Linked DNA regions of Homo sapiens: region 2 is linked to region 1. Evidence: promoter capture Hi-C in 16 types of primary human blood cells and fetal thymus (Javierre and others, 2016). All regions are on one chromosome and are shown on one strand. The core of a region is centred on a gene start or on the middle of the fragment in contact, and the rest is flanking DNA. Distances in the headings are between cores, read along the strand shown. Region 1 holds the start of USP46 (ubiquitin specific peptidase 46). Region 2 has its middle 3.2 kb from the start of DCUN1D4.

Region 1 (2,700 bases), core at 8-2,507:
CTTCAAGGGAGGTTTTCCTCAAACTGGCACTGTAAGAGCACGTGTTGCCTCCGGGGACCCGCTTGGGAGGGGGCTAGAGGGGAGGCGGGGTGCAGTCTAAAGAATGTAGGCAAAACACACATCATCTCACCCTGCAAGGGACAGCAATGCCTTACTCCAATCTGAGCTCCCCAAAGGCTCTGACAAGTGGAGGCGCCAGCAGGGTCCAGCCTGGGGACCCAAGGGCTGGAGGTTCTTCCTACAGAAAAAGGGAAAGCAATGGGGGAAACCCAAATTAAAGTGACCACCGCATCATGGGCTCGGACTGCATCAGAACCCAGTGATGTCCCTGGCTGTATCCATGCCCGCCAGCCTCCCCTAGGTCTACAGCGGATCAGGCAGGATAACCCTGGAGACCTCCTCCAAGCCCACAGCCCGCCCCACCCTTAGGGCCTGCAAATATTACCGCCACAGAGCCTTGTCCCTTTTTCACAGATGGGGAAACTGAGGCATGCGGAGCAAATTACGGTGCTTTTTCAAACCAGGTTGAAGTTCACTTCTCCAGCCACAATTTTGCACTTTTTTTACAGCTTTATTACATTTCCGATTTCTCCAGATACACAATTGCTATTGCAAAGTGAATTTTAAACACCTCGGAAGGACTGAACTCAAAATGAGATGAGGGCAGTCTGGACGTCCAATAAGGCTGTCTTGACCGCAAGAAGAGGATGGGTGCCCCCCACCTCCAGCTTATCCCCCACCCCCTCCCCGGGGACGTTCAGGTTCGGTCGCTTCCCTTCCCTCAAGCCGCTTCCACCGCAACCCGAGGGCGGGGGGCGCAGCAGCGCGGCCCCGGGATCGCCGGGCGGGTTCCGAGGTCCCGGGGCTGAGACGGGCGCCGGGGGCTCGGGGACCCTCCCCGGCCGCTGAGGTGGCTGCGGCCGCGCGCCCAGCTCGGGGGCCGGGAACTTCTGGCGGCGCGGACCCCGCCGCCCCCGCCGCCCCAGCCACCGGGCGTGTGTGCAGCTCGGGCTTCCCTTTCTTTGCCTCGCCGCGAGTCGGGCGCGACCCCGAGGCGGCTCGGCCACTCACCATATTACAGATGGAGGCGATGTTTCGGACAGTCATTAGTCTAAAGGTTGCAGCGATCCCTCACCGCCATCTTTACAAGGGGAAACCGGGACTGCCCATGGTGGCGCGCTGGCGGGGAGGCCGGGCGGCAGCGCGGCGGCCTGGGGTCCGGCTTTCAGTTTGGCTGGGAGAGGGAGGCCGGGAGGAGGAGGCGGCGGCGCGGGGAGGGCGGGGAGGGAGCGCGGAGGGGCGGGGAGTGGCGGAGCGAGGGAGCCTGGGCCGCGGCCGGCGGCGCGGGGAGGAGGGGCGGCCCGGGCGCGCCGCGTGAGTCCGAGCCGGCCGCTCAGAGCGCTCCAGGCTGGGTTCCCGGGCCCCGCCGCGCCGCCTCCTTCCCAGCTCGCCCGCCCAGGCCTGGCCTCCTGCTTTTCCATTTGATTCCCTGCCTCTTTCTATTCGGACTGGAATGCCGGGCCAGGCTCCGGGGCGCGCCGCTGCGGCAGCCGCACCTCGCAGGTCCCCCGGCCGACCCCGACGCGGAAGCGGCGGCCCTCCTCGCCGTCGGGGAGCCAGGGAGCCGGGGACGGTACGGTGCGCGGGGTGGGGAAGCGGGCGGCCCAGGCCGGGGCGAACCCGGGGCCGCCTTCCGTCCTCGCTTTTTCCTCGTCGCCTTCCTCCTGGCGGGCCTCGGCAGCCCCCGGTGTTTATTTTTTGGCGAGGGGTAGGGGTGGCGACGTCCAACTTTTAGTTCCTCCCGAGGGTTCCAACCAGATGGCACCGGCGGGGACCCAAGAAGTAAAATGGGGCGAGGACACCGGAGCGGTCAGAGAGCCCTCGCCAGCTGCGGGCCGGGCGCCCGAGAAAGGGCGCCGGGAAGGGGGAGGAATCCGGGTCTGGGCGGAGGCCAGCAGCGGCGCGCTCGGGCGGCTTGTGACATTAGCGGGTCCAAAGGAGACGTCCCGGTTCCGCGCAAGCACTAGGGACTGTCCAAGGAGTGGAAAGAACGAAAACAAAACTTTTCCATATCTTCAAGGCAGGCATACCCCTCTCGGGTGCACCCAGCCTCTAGTTGTTGAGATGGGCGCTGTATGGGATCATGCACATTTCCCGCATTAAAGGTCGTGGCTGCGGGCTCAGAGCGCGAGTCTGTGCACCACTTAGCAGATAGGTCCACGCGAATTGAAGGGGCCCGTTTCTGAATGTGTGGAACAGTTACACATACAAGGTTGCAATTCGATGCTTTCAAAGGAGAAATTGTACAAGTGAGATGCGTGATAAATTCTTAGATCAGTGTATTTAATGACAAATTGAATCAGAAGAAAAATTAGTTGAAGATAGCTTTTATCTAACCAAGAGTAAAGATTTGAGAGCCGTTGATTGCTAATATCCCTAGAATCTGGGGAGGAAACAGTAAGACAGACTTGTTGACTGAAGGTTTTGGGAGTCATGTCACTGTGTTTTCCAGTGGACATGAGAAATAATATTCCTGCTTAAGTCTTTCAACCTAAATATTATTTCCAAATACATCCTGATGATAATTTCTTCCATTGTAAGTCATGACTGATTTTCTTCTCTCTCTCTCTGTTTTTTAAGAGACAGGTTCTCGCTATGTTGCCCAGCCTGAGGCTGGGCAGCCCCGAGTCATCCCAAACT
Region 2 (2,700 bases), core at 35-2,534, 820 kb before region 1:
CTTGGGCTCAAGTGATCCACCCACCTCAGCCTCCGAAAGTGCTGGGGTTTCAGGCATGAGCCACCATGCCCAGCCTGATTTCACTATCTTTTGAGAGCATGTTAACAACCATATTATTGTATCCTTATAAATAATCTCTGAGGTATATAGGGGCATATATTAACCTGATTAAAAAGAGAAGGAACTGGCCAGGTGCGGTGGCTCATGCCTGTAATCTCAGCACTTTGGGAACTGAGGCGGGCAGATCACCTGAGGTCAGGAGTTTGAGACCATCCTGGCCAACATGGCAAAACCCCGTCTCTACTAAAAACACAACAATTAGTCGGGTGTGGTGGCGTGTGCCTGTAATCCCAGCTACTTGAGAGGCTGAGGCAGGAGAATCACTTGAACCCAGGAGGCAGAGGTTGCCGTGAATGGAGATCCCACCACTGCACTCCAGCCTGGGCGACAGAGTGAGACTCCGTCTCAAAAGAGACAGAGAGAGAGAGAGAAAAGGAAGGAAGAAGGGAAGGAGAGAAGGAGGGAATGAGGGAGGGAAGGAAGGAAGGAAGGAAGGAGAAGGAAGGAAGGAAGAAAGGAGAAGGAAGGAAGGAAGGAAGGAAGGAGGGAAGGAAAGAAAGAAAGAAAGAAAAGAAGGAAAGGAAGAAAGAAAGAAAGAAACTAAAGCCCAACACAGGAATATTAAAAACATGGAGTCTGGCTACTTAGGGGCACGTTTACTTATTAGCTGGGTGGCAAGTTACCGAAGCTCTTGAAGCTTCAGTTAACTTACCTGTAGATTGGGGATACTATTAGTTATTAGTACTCCACTGTGTTGTTGTGAAGTTAAGTAGATTAGTTTACCAGTACAGTACTATTAGAGTAGTGCCCGTCACATAGGAAGCATTAAGAAAGAAGTTGTTATCACTTGGGACAGCAAATTCAGTTGGTCATATTTGGAGAAAGAAAACTATCCTGCCCTCTATGGATAAATTCTCCTTTCGGAGGGGGTTTATTTTCATTTCCAAATACTAGAAACCCACCTAGCCTGACATTTTATTACTAAAGGAGTTCTGCCAACTCTCTCACTGTAATCTAAGGCCAAATTAATTCCTCTCTGTCCTGTGTTCTTTCTTATTCTCTTTAAATCTTACCAGGGACACATTTATCTGTCTGTGCAGGCCCAACTTATTTTCAGTCTCAAGAACTATGCTATTCTTCCTCCTACTCCCAATCCCAACACATGCAGGAAAAGCATGCTACAGTGGGCTTAGCAGAATTTAGGGGAAAGCGTAACATTTGATTGAAGAGCTCTGCTGTTTTTTTTCTCTTACTAGACTTCTCCATATCACATTCTAATCTAGGCTTAGGGCATTTCAAAATATATCTGATTAAAATTAATATTGTATGACTAATAAAATAGAAAAATTCCAATTAAATTAGGTATCATTAACATGGAGTAACTTGCTTCAATATTACCTTAAAGCAGTAACTGGGTGAAATGAAATGGCATAAAGACTGCATCTCCAAATATCTCTACCCATCACAGTCCCAAGATATTCAATTATTAATTTTTTTCTCCAGGGATTCAAATATAAATGTACAGAAGTATAACATTATTATCTCAGTAAACCTCTCCATGGGGATCATGTTCTTTGGGAATACTACAAATGAGAAAAAAAAAAGTGAAGTATTGATTTACATATTGAAAAAAATCCTGAATGAAATACATAAAAAAGAAGGCAACATTTCAACCATGAAGCAGACTTGTATTAGATTGGCATAGTAACTTTCAGATGGGAAGGGAGAGTAGTTTACCTATCTTTGGAATTTGAAGCTTTGATATTAGACAGTGTGGTACAGGGGATAGAGTTGAGAAACCTGAATTTAAGCCCTGTTTTGTTATCAACTAGCCAAGTGACTCAGATTAAACATTTAACTCCTTTGGATGTCAAGTCTCTTATTTTTAAAATGAAGATGTTGGATTTGATAATCACCAAGGTTCCTATCCAGATCTAAAATTTCATGTACGGTAAACATTCATTTTAAGGGGTATGGTTAACCAGTGCCTACCACAATATTTGAAAGCATTGTACTAGGTGCTAGGCAAGTAAAAAGATAACTATAACAAGTTTCCTGATATCAGAGGTTTATATGGTGTGGATTATTTAAATGACCAGGTAATATTTGCAGAGCATTATGTAGTCATTTTATTATACTTTGTAAAACGTGGGGGCAGTGAGGGTCAGCCGACTAGGAATGAGCTTTGCCTCTCAATCCTTAGGCTATAGCTGACTCTTTATAAAGATCTGGGTAAATTACCTCTAAGTCTGTTTTCTACTTGAAAATAATCATACTGACTCAACTGAAAGCAATGTTGAGAAATAACAGAGGTTGTACATTCTATAAATTTTTATGGACACCATGCATATGCCAGGCCAGTGTTGGGAGCTGGGGCAAAGCAGCCGACCCATCCTTCATCTAGCTTAACTCTTATACACATTATTATAAAGTATGCTGCAAATAAATTAATAGAGCAAATGACTAGCTATAATTAATTGTGGGCTTATTGTAATTTAGAGGTGTCACGAAGGAAGCCCTTTTCTGTGCAAAATAACATGTGTCTCAGTCTTTGAAGTACCATGGTAAACGGTAAAAAAAAAAATCATAAATATTACACACACAAAAGATTTGAAACTTGTATTAAATGACATATAATTT

Evidence for each region. The method cuts DNA at HindIII sites, captures the fragments that hold promoters and counts their contacts. A CHiCAGO score of 5 or more calls a contact.
Region 2: a fragment that was not itself captured here is called in contact with the fragment with the promoter of USP46 in region 1 in 2 of 17 cell types (total CD8 T cells and naive CD8 T cells); the score reaches 6.4 in total CD8 T cells.

What each region holds. Positions count from the first base shown.
Region 1 is chr4:52,658,044-52,660,743 of GRCh38, forward strand. USP46 (ubiquitin specific peptidase 46) reads right to left here and starts at 1,258. Exons shown (of 9, transcript NM_022832.4): 1 at 1,072-1,258. The coding sequence starts at 1,107. USP46-DT (USP46 divergent transcript) reads left to right here and starts at 1,363. Exons shown (of 2, transcript NR_125363.1): 1 at 1,363-1,633. RefSeq lists silencers at 712-1,231, 1,242-1,671. The HindIII fragment of the contact is 3,165 bases long and covers 1-2,700 here.
Region 2 is chr4:51,838,608-51,841,307 of GRCh38, forward strand. It overlaps a transcript of DCUN1D4 not described here. Among named protein-coding and RNA genes, the nearest start is that of DCUN1D4, 3.2 kb to the right of the region's middle. The HindIII fragment of the contact is 1,059 bases long and covers 756-1,814 here.